Linked DNA regions of Homo sapiens: region 2 is linked to region 1. The links are contacts of gene promoters, found by promoter capture Hi-C in blood cells and fetal thymus (Javierre and others, 2016). All regions are on one chromosome and are shown on one strand. Each heading gives the region's core, a stretch centred on a gene start or on the middle of the fragment in contact. The rest is flanking DNA. Distances are from core to core; before and after follow the strand shown.

What was found. Contacts are between HindIII fragments. The CHiCAGO score rates a contact against its expected background, and 5 or more counts as called.
Region 2: a contact is called between a fragment that was not itself captured here and the fragment with the promoter of KRT81 in region 1, in 1 of 17 cell types (M1 macrophages). The highest score is 5.3, in M1 macrophages.

Annotation. Positions count from the first base shown.
Region 1 is chr12:52,289,202-52,294,436 of GRCh38, reverse strand. It overlaps KRT81 (keratin 81), which reads left to right and starts at 2,903. Exons shown (of 9, transcript NM_002281.4): 1 at 2,903-3,340; 2 at 4,151-4,359; 3 at 5,162-5,222. The coding sequence starts at 2,972. All of the region lies in intron 2 of KRT86 (keratin 86), which reads right to left. The HindIII fragment of the contact is 6,626 bases long and covers 2,311-5,235 here.
Region 2 is chr12:52,169,461-52,174,695 of GRCh38, reverse strand. KRT80 (keratin 80) reads left to right here. Exons shown (of 9, transcript NM_182507.3): 5 at 932-1,096; 6 at 1,533-1,658; 7 at 2,278-2,498; 8 at 2,983-3,038; 9 at 3,174-5,235. The coding sequence ends at 3,298. Among named protein-coding and RNA genes, the nearest start is that of KRT80, 20 kb to the left of the region's middle. The HindIII fragment of the contact is 4,944 bases long and covers 659-5,235 here.

The sequences.
Region 1 (5,235 bases), core at 1,654-4,153:
AATGTCCTTTTAGGTCTTCAAAAATTAGCAGCAATTAATTCCTGAAGTTTAATGAAATGGTGTCACATTTGAATTTTTCATATTCTTACATCTTTAAAATTGCTTAGTAAGGACCAGCCATTAGTAATTAGCTTGTGTTTATACATGTTGTTTTTATAAGGAGTTATACTGGTAGAAAAGGTGAAGTGTGGATGAGATGTACTTTGACTCACAGTGCTCCTCAGGACACCCAACCGCTGGTTTACTGGGGACATCACTGCTCAATTGTGAGCAGTGCCCCAAATTCCAGATGAGGGTACAAAGAGCTTCAGAAGTGCTGGCCCAGCAGCCCTGAACTCACAAAGGGACAGCAGGTGCCATACTCTTCTCTGGGGTGACCAGATAGCTCAACACAGTCTGTGACCTCCCACATTTGTCCTGCACAAGGCCACACTCTGAATGTTTTGCACAGATACCCTGAGAGCCCTATTCTCTTCTATTTTTTTCCTCTCCTCTCTTTTCCCATCAATCCTGCTTCTGTTCTCATTCCCTAAGTCTACTCTGCCTGCCTTTGCCCTTGAAGCATAGCAGCTCCAGGGGGCTATAAGCCAGGCCATTTCACTTCTCTTTTCTTCTCCTCAATTTAATGCAAACCTCTGTACTTTACGAGCTAATTTTTCTAGGACCTGCTCTATTGGAGTGGGGGGTGGTTCACTGGGTAAGTAGAACATAGTACAGTCTATCAAAGTATTGCCATATACCAGAGGTATGCAAATAACTAAAACTGATGTTTTCCACCCCGTCCTTCAATTCTTAGCCACGGGGTGCTGCACATCTAACTCATACTCCTTCCCAGCCCCCAAGTAGCCTCACATCGCCGTGTGTCCCTAAATGACCCCTCATGGTTCTAACCATCCCAATCCACTCTGACTCTGCCCGTCTTCCTTAGATGGACTCTCTCACACCCTAAATTCACAGATACTCCCCTGTAAACAACTTTCACTACCCTCTTGAACTTATCCAAAGATTAGGAAGTCAAGGGGTTGTCACAGCTTATAAGTGAGAAGGCAATGCAACTCCTGGCTCCATCACTTACCAGCTGGGAGACTTCGGGCAAGTTATTTAACCTCCCTGACCCTTGGTTTCCTCATCAGTAAAATGGGGATAATGGCACATACTTCATATGATTGATGTGAGAATTAGAGATCATTTACGATATATAATGATGATCACATAGTAGGTGACCAATTAAAAAGAAACATATTCTTATCAAACTAAGATCCATGTTTCTCTACACAGTTCTTTCTAATTCTAATTCTCTATACAGTTTTTCCTAATACAGGGGGAAATGTACTGAAGTGATCCAACCTCCATCTCCTGGGTTCAAGCAATTCTCCTGCCTTAGCCTCCCATGTAGCTGGGAATACAGGCACGTGCCACCATAACGGGCTAATTTTTGTATTTGTAGTAGAGACGGGGTTTCACCATCTCTGGTCTTAAACTCCTCCACTGAGGCTGGTCTTGAACTCCTGACCTCAGGTGATCCACCCCCCTCAGACTCCCAAAGTGCTGGGATTACAGGTATGAGCCACTGCGCCCAGCTGTGATTCAATTTAGCATCACCAATCTGACATTTTATGCTTCCTGGGGTGATATAATAAGAGTTACACAGCATATTTTATGAAGTATTCTGTCCCAACAATGTTTAATTTAAACCTAATCCAGCCTCTAGCCCAGTGCTGTCCAACAGAATTTTATGTGAAAATAAACAATAAATAAAATAAAAATAAATAATAAAGAAGTGTTCTTTATATGCACTGTCTAATAAGGTAGGCACTACTTACAGGTAGCTGCTGAGGACTCAAAATGTGGATAGTGCAACTGAATAACTAGATTTTTAACTTATTTAGTTTTTACTAACTTAAATTTAAGTAGCCACATCTGCCTATTGTCTACCAAATTGGACATCCCAGCTCAAGATTTACTTTCTAATTTATAGAAAATACAAGGGCTAGAGCCACAAATTAAATTATGTAAAATGTAGTTTTAAAATCCTTAGGACAGTTAGGAAAATTGAATCTGAGATGAATAGTAAGTGGTGCTTTGGAATTATTGTTAATTTTCCTGAATAAGAAAATAGTACTCTCCTTATTCTTAAGAAATTCCTGCTGATGTATTTAAGGGTGACATGCCATGCTTTCTGCCACTCAAATAATTGGGCAACTGTGAAAGCAAATATGGTATAATGTTAACTGTTGAATCGGGGTAAACAGGTGGAGCATCAATGCATGTGTGTTGTATTATTCCAATTTTCCTCAATATTTGAAAGCTTTCATCATAAAAAAGATAAAAGACAAATATTTAATAATCTGCTGACTGTTCCCATGGTAGGAAAAGTGAGATGGTTTTCAGCTGCCAACTGAAAAATCTGGAGATGGGGAAATCCAGATTTGTGTTTCAGGAGCACTTTAGCCACAGCTGTGATGGAAATGAGAGATGGTATTTATTAATGCCTCAGCCTTTCCTGAAACCCCTCTCCCCACATCACACTTAACACACAGGTCTCCTCCTCCCAGTTTCTCCCAGCACCTGGCCTCCCTTCTCTTCCCCTCGCCAGGCTCTACTCCTCCTTCTCGTCCTCTCCTCTGCCTTCCCCTTCCCTCCCCAATGCCTGCAGATGAAGGAATGCCCTGCTGGCAAGACACTTTGAAGATGAAACATGCTGACTCCCCCAGAGCCCAAGACTGACATCTTTTACAAAGAAGAGGGTGCAGGCCACTCCCCCATTAAAGCACATTCTGGAGAGGCGTTAGACCCGGCTAACCACCCAAGCCCATAAAGCGCAAATTGCCCCAACATCATCTTCACAGCCAAGCCCCTTCAGAATCTGCGCATAAATAGGGCTGCGGTGCCCTGAGGAGCACATTGGAGTTTCCATCAGGACTCCAGGTCCCCTATCCTGTCCTCTGCAACCCAAACGTCCAGGAGGATCATGACCTGCGGATCAGGATTTGGTGGGCGCGCCTTCAGCTGCATCTCGGCCTGCGGGCCGCGGCCCGGCCGCTGCTGCATCACCGCCGCCCCCTACCGTGGCATCTCCTGCTACCGCGGCCTCACCGGGGGCTTCGGCAGCCACAGCGTGTGCGGAGGCTTTCGGGCCGGCTCCTGCGGACGCAGCTTCGGCTACCGCTCCGGGGGCGTGTGCGGGCCCAGTCCCCCATGCATCACCACCGTGTCGGTCAACGAGAGCCTCCTCACGCCCCTCAACCTGGAGATCGACCCCAACGCGCAGTGCGTGAAGCAGGAGGAGAAGGAGCAGATCAAGTCCCTCAACAGCAGGTTCGCGGCCTTCATCGACAAGGTGGGTGTCCTGGATCACACCCTTCCTGAACCCCCACCACCTACACAGCCAGGGCCGGGCACTAAGGATGGAGTCAGAGGCACAAAGACCTCTGCCTGCCTGAGATCCCAGTCTGATGGGCGAGGCACACAGACACACAGACAGACAGACACATGCACAGACACACACACACAGGCACTCAAGATGCAGACTCAGCTGACAGTTCAGATAGAGGGAGCTTGTGAAGGAAAAGTGTGGCCAGGCTGCTCTGGGGCACAAGCTAGACATCAGGGAGTTGGGGGAGGGGGGCATGTGACCACTGCTGCTGAACTCAGAGGGGTTTGGGCAGCCCCAGGGTGAGAGAGTAGGGTGCACTGACTTCCAGATGACACAGGGGAAGGGCTGGGACAGCTGAGCTCCCTTCCAGATGGCCTGTGACACCCTCTTCCTGGCACCATCCCCAGAAACCTCATCTGTGATCTGAACCTGAGTACTCTGCCTGTGTGGGTTGCTGATCACCTAGTTTCATAGTGAGGGACTGAGCCTCCACTTCTGTTCATCTGCTTGGGTTGGGGGGGGGGGGTCACTCAACTCCCCAGGGAGCAGGCACTGACACCACCCAGCCCTTGCTCCACTCCTGAGTGGGAAATCTAGACACAGATCATGACCAGGAAATCCAGAAATTGTCTGTCTCCCACTGCCCACCTCTACTCAATCTCAGATAAGCTCCAGATTTGGGGGTTCCCATTAAAGCACCTCCCCTGCGAGCCCCCAGAGCTGGCTTTGGGGCACCAGACACCATCTGCCCCACCTTCCCACACCGAATGGCAGGTGCGCTTCCTGGAGCAGCAGAACAAACTGCTGGAGACAAAGCTGCAGTTCTACCAGAACCGCGAGTGTTGCCAGAGCAACCTGGAGCCCCTGTTTGAGGGCTACATCGAGACTCTGCGGCGGGAGGCCGAGTGCGTGGAGGCCGACAGCGGGAGGCTGGCCTCAGAGCTTAACCACGTGCAGGAGGTGCTGGAGGGCTACAAGAAGAAGTGAGTGCGGGCAAGAGGGATGCTGGGCACAGGAATGGGGTTTAGGTTAAATACACTGGATTAGACAATAAGAACTCCCAGGTAGGGTGAGTGGCCATGACCACTAGATTGACCGAGGGTGGCGGGGTCTTTTCCTTTGTGGAATCTTTGCCCAGACACCTGTGTAAGAGGAGGGCTGTGACTCCCATGACCTGTCTCTGTCCCACTTCAGCCTTCTCTCCCTGAACCACATCACCCAGCAGCTCTCCCCTGCGCTGGGTGGGGAGGAAGCCTCTGCAGGGTCCAGGCCTTCTCTCCTGACCCTCAGCCCCTATACTTGTAGCACCTGTCAGATGTGAGCCCAGGGTCTCTCATGAGTGACAGGTCTTGGGCTCTGGGTGTCCCACTGCCTTAGGTTCTAAGTCCTGAGGGTCTGCGGGTCCAGGAGGCCCCATACCTGAGCTGGGATTGATACCAGTGAGGGGAGGCTAGGGCTACAGGCCCTGAGAGTCCACGCTGTCCACTCCCAGGATGGGGCTGGGGGCTGAGTCCTATTTGCCTCCTGGGGGACCTCAGAGCCCCTTTGGGAACAGGACTGGGAGGTCCCAGATGAGCACTCTCCATCCCCAGTTCAAAGTGGATAGAGAATCCCAGACACATCCCACATCCAACTAGAAAGCACTAAGCTAGGCTGCCAGGCCGGGGCTGTGTGGAGGTGTTTCTAGTACTGTCCCCATGGCTGTGATGAAGTGTGATGTGATGGTGGCTCTGCAGAGACCTGCCCTGCCCTGACCTCCCCTCTCTTCCCTCTGCTCTGTCTCAGGTATGAGGAGGAGGTTTCTCTGAGAGCAACAGCTGAGAACGAGTTTGTGGCTCTGAAGAAGGCAAGTGACACAG
Region 2 (5,235 bases), core at 1,881-4,380, 120 kb after region 1:
CTCCGGGGCCCACCCTGCCACTCACCGCTGTCTCCACAACATCTTTATGCCTCAGTTTCCTCCTCTGGGGCTGCAGCAGTGCCAGCCTGGTGAGGATGTGTGGAAAACGCTCAGCGCACAGTCCAGCCTGCAGGGAATTCCTCAGGGAATGGTGGGTTTTACCATTTCCAGAAGTCTCCAGGGATAGGAGACGGTGAAAATATTGTGGTCGTCCAGGCAATGTCCCTTGGCTAGAGAGGGAGTGGGCGCTGAGTCTCCAGGGGGACCCTGAAGTCAGAGTGCTGGAGGCTGCGCCCAGGCTCCTCACAGGCTGTTGGCTTTCAGTGGGGCCGGGAGAGGGGAGTACAGGTTTGTCAGCCTCCAGCCCACTCCACCCTGGTCACTCCCTGGCTTCCCTCCCAACATTTACCAAATGAACTGAGGCACTCCTTTCCCAGACGTGGGGGCTCAGAGATGAACACAGCTCTGCCAGGCCCACAAGGAGCTGCTCGTCCAGTGGGAGAGGCAGAGCTGTACCCCACAGCACAGGAATAATGAAACAGTAAACAGAGGGGCCCAACTCACAGCCCCAGAGCCTGACTTCTCTGGCCCTTTCCCATCAGCCAGGAGTAGGCCATCCCTCCCAGGAGAGGGCAACAGTGCAGGCAGTGGGGAAGCTTGCAGGTAGCCTTTAAAACCAACAGTCCCAGCCTGCCCTCCACTCAGATAGGGGGACTGTGGGTGGGTGAGCAGTGGGCAGTGAGCTGCCTTCCGAGAGTCCTGGCTGGGGAGACGTGGCAGGGAGGCATTCGGCCTTCCATCATCTCTCCAGAGGGACAGGAAGGGAGCAGCTCCACTCTCCGCTCACCCCGGGGACAAAGTGACTGTGTGGGGCTGAGGGTCCTTGTGCCCTCCCCACCAGCCCTGAGCCCCCACATCTGTGCCCGGTCAGGAGCTGAAGGACCTGGCAGCACAGGTGAAGGATGTGTCGGTGACCGTCGGCATGGACAGCCGCTGCCACATCGACCTGAGCGGCATCGTGGAGGAGGTGAAGGCCCAGTATGACGCCGTCGCGGCTCGCAGCCTGGAGGAGGCCGAGGCATACTCTCGGAGCCAGGTGGGGCTGACCACACAGGGCACGAGAAGCAGCCTGGACAGTTCTCTGGGTGGCAGGAAGGGCTGGACTGGTGATGGCTGAGGTTGCCTGCAGCTCTCTGTCCTGAAAGTCTATGAGAGAGGAATGGAGAAGCACAGGGACGGGGCGGGCGGGGGGAGACCACAGAAGCTGGTCTGTGCCCTCCAGGAGTTCAAGGTGGTGCTGTTATCAGCAATGCTAGGCCAGATGTGGGCATGGCCCATGGGGCTCAGCTAGGGCAGCCAGGAGAGGCCACCCAGAAAGGGAGGTGGAAGGGGGAGCTGAGGGAGCCTGGCGTGGCGTGGTGGGCTGCAGAGTTGGAGATGGGACTGGAGGATGCAAGAAAAAGCAGAGGCGGGTAACAAGTGCTGGGAGCGGCACTGAGCTGCCCCTCACTGAGACCTCCATGTACCTCCAGCTGGAGGAGCAGGCCGCCCGCTCGGCCGAGTATGGGAGCAGCCTCCAGAGCAGCCGCAGCGAGATCGCGGATCTCAATGTGCGCATCCAGAAGCTGCGGTCCCAGATCCTCTCTGTCAAGAGCCATGTGAGTATCTGGGGGACGCGCCTGGGGGCGGGGAGGAGAGCAGGGAGACACACAGTCATGTGTGCTGAATACAGGCAAGACATGACTGAGTGACCCTGTGTGGGTCGCTTAGCGCCTCTGTGCCTCAGTTTCCTAATCTGTCAAATGGGATAATAGCACAGCCTCCTAAAGTAGTTATGAGGCGCTCTGCATACAAAAATACTCTGTAATCTGGTCAAGGCTGCTGGAACGTTAGAAAGCCCCCACACTACACACACCCAGAGCCCACTGCCTCCCTCCTGGGAACCCCCACCAACTACACAGAGAGGAGGGAGTAGAGGCCTAAGTCCCAGCTTCCAGCCAGGACAAACCTTCAGGGCAGGTGCTGCCCCATAAGGACAGCCGGGACAGGCTCCTTTAGTGGCTTGCGGTGCTTTCCTCTGGCCTTGGGAAGGTGCCTCTTCAGGTCTAACTGAACTCCCTCTTGCTGCATGGCAACCAGTTACCACACCCAGAAATGCCATTGCTCAGCCCTCCCTCCCCACACCTACCCCCACCAAGGACAGAGACGACTCCTGGCCCTGGCCCGCTCCTCCTTCCCCTGCTCACAGGCCCTTTCACTCTGTCCTCCTGGCTGCAGTGCCTGAAACTGGAGGAGAACATCAAGACAGCTGAGGAGCAGGGTGAGCTGGCCTTCCAGGATGCCAAGACCAAGCTGGCCCAGCTGGAGGCCGCCCTGCAGCAGGCCAAGCAGGACATGGCGCGGCAGCTGCGCAAGTACCAGGAGCTGATGAACGTCAAGCTGGCCCTGGACATCGAGATCGCCACCTACAGGAAGCTGGTGGAGGGCGAGGAGGGCAGGTGAGAGCCAGGGCTGGTGAGGAAGGGCTGCAGGGGAAGGAGGGCTGGAGGCCCAGGCCTACACAAAGTCAGTTCTCCTTTCCAATATGATACAGTGAGCCTACCAGGCCTGGGTTTAAGTCTTGGCTTAGTCACTTACAAACTGGGACCTTGGCCCAGTTCATTTCATCCTGTTTCCCCATCTGGAAAGTGGGCTGATCATAAACATGGTTCACCTGTGGCAGGGATGATTCATGTGATTATGCCTGCAAATGCCTGTCAAAACTCAGTGCTCAATGCTATTAGCCATTTATGCCATGGAGATGGGACAGAGGCCCAGGAAGGACAAGCTGGCTAGCCAGGGCCACACAACAGGGCAACCCCAGGGCTGGGAGTGACCACCAAGAACTACCCTCCACTTGCCAGCCCCCAGGGGAGTTTAAGCCACAGGCTCTCTTCGCATCCCATCATATCCCTCTCCCACCCCCCCGTCCCCCACCCCCAGGATGGACTCGCCCTCAGCCACTGTGGTCAGCGCTGTGCAGTCCAGGTGCAAAACCGGTGAGTCCTCTTGCCCCGAGAACCCATGGTGGGGTGAGGGTGAGGGTGTAGGGGATCATGATCCTAAAGGCATCATTTTAAGTGGCTCCCAAACCTCCAGCCCCTTCCCTCCCCTACCCCTTATGTTCCCTGTAGCTGCCTCCAGATCAGGCCTCTCCAAGGCCCCCTCCCGAAAGAAGAAGGGCAGCAAAGGCCCCGTGATCAAAATCACCGAAATGTCAGAGAAGTACTTCTCGCAGGAGTCGGAGGTCTCAGAGTAAGGCGGCTGGACCCCAGGAACCCCAGGGCACTCCACTGCAGCAGGAGGGACTTAAGCTAGACTCAAGAAAGCAGCTTGGAGCCTCTAGGTTGAGAAGAGAGGCAAAACCTGATATTGAACTGAGAGAGGGGTTCAAAACTGACTGTGTTTTGTGGGCTGCCAGGGTGGGAGAGGAGCATCACCAGCTCCTCAGAGCCACTCCGCTCCATATCAGTATCTCACAGTCCCATCCTTCCAACCTTCTGGCCAGAGGTTTTCCTGATGGGTGAGTCGGAATTAGGGGTCAGTTTTGTCTCCACCTCCTCGCTCCTCTGAGGCTCCTCCTCCAGCATCAGGCTCTGCCAAGGCCCCTCTGACTCTTGCCCAATCCTTGACCTTGACTCCTATCTCAAGCCTTGCCTTGTCTCTGCCTCGGAACTGGGACTGGGACTGGCTCATCCACCTATGTGCGGGAGCCGAGGAGGACGGCGTGGGCCCTGTCCTGTATCTGGAATTCCTGGGAAGGCTGGCTGCTGAAGACCCTCTTGGCTTTCCCGTGCTCTTTGGGCTCCCCAGAGACCTGACAGTATTAGGGAGTGAAGGGAGGAGGGGCCCTGGCTATTTGGGACCTAAGCCTAGGCCCCAGAGATCAGCCCGAACACCCGCATCCCTTCCTCCTCCCATGGGTCCCTCCCAGTAGGCAGTAGTCAGAACTGGATGGGCTGCCCCCAGCCAGCTCCCAGCAGCTTCTCCGGAAGCTGCTCTTGCCATAATCAACTCCCTGGGAGTGGAAGCCAGATGGCAGCTTGAGATTGGGCAGGAGCATTCGATCTTCCTTTCACCTCCCTGCCATGCTGGGGTCCTACCCAGCCTGGATCTGAGCTCTGTGCCCCCAGCCGGGTTGTTCCCAGCCTGAGCACCGGGCTTTGGTGCACCAGGCCTTGGAGACCCCTGGTCCCACCCCTGCCGTGAAGCCCCAGGCCCACTTCCCAAGAATCTCACTTCTCAGGGCCTCTGTTCTCCTCTCCACTGGGCCAAATAGCCTGGCCCTCCCCTCCTTGGCATTCATGGGGGAGCCCAGGAACCCCCCACACCTATGGGGTTAGAGCTCCTCCTTTCTTCTCACTCCTTCCCCTTCCTCCCTCCATGCCCACTCCCCCTGCCTCCAGCAGGCCAGGAAGAAGGCACAGTCCAGGCAAGTCTGGGAGCTTCCAAGCCCTTGAGGTCCAGCTGTGGGGCCCAAATGACAGCCTTACAAGGGTTCTACCAGAGAGGAAAATTCCACATCCCACCAGAAGACAGGGGTGTTGGCAGGCATACTCCTATCTCCTCCTCTTGGCTCTCAATGCTGAGGCTTGCAGAGGCATCCCAGCGGCACCAGCCTCCCACTGCACAGCTTCCTTCCCTCCTTCACTCTCCTCTCCCCTCCCTGCCCCTTGCCTCACCTCCTCTTCTAGACTGCATTAGATTCATTCATCTCATTTGCCAGGACATGTTGGCCAGAGGTCTGGGCCCATCCCAGGCCTCAAGGCCCTCCAGGCCTGTGGGGAGCACTGGAGGGTTACTGACTCTCTGGCCATGGGAACTCAGAGATTCTCATCCCCAAAGTCCCAAAAGAGGGTGCTGATTGGTGCTTTTCCTCAGGCTCTTCATTGGTTTCCAAGGGAGCAAATCCTCAGTGGGGATACAAGACATATAAAGTATATATTATTTTTTCATAACTTATGTGGCTTTTAACTTATTGCTTCCCTTCCTGTTTCTGCATGATCAGTCTGTATGTACTATCTGGAAAGATAACACATACTCCAGCCACCTCACCTGATTGGCTATCTTGGGGCCATGTCCCCTTCTTGCTGCCACAGGATGAATAAAGTGTTGAGATTTGTCTATGGAGAAAGCTGTGTGTCTGTTTTTATCTCCCCTCTCAGGACCAGTCAGCCACTGGTCAATCAGGCTGAT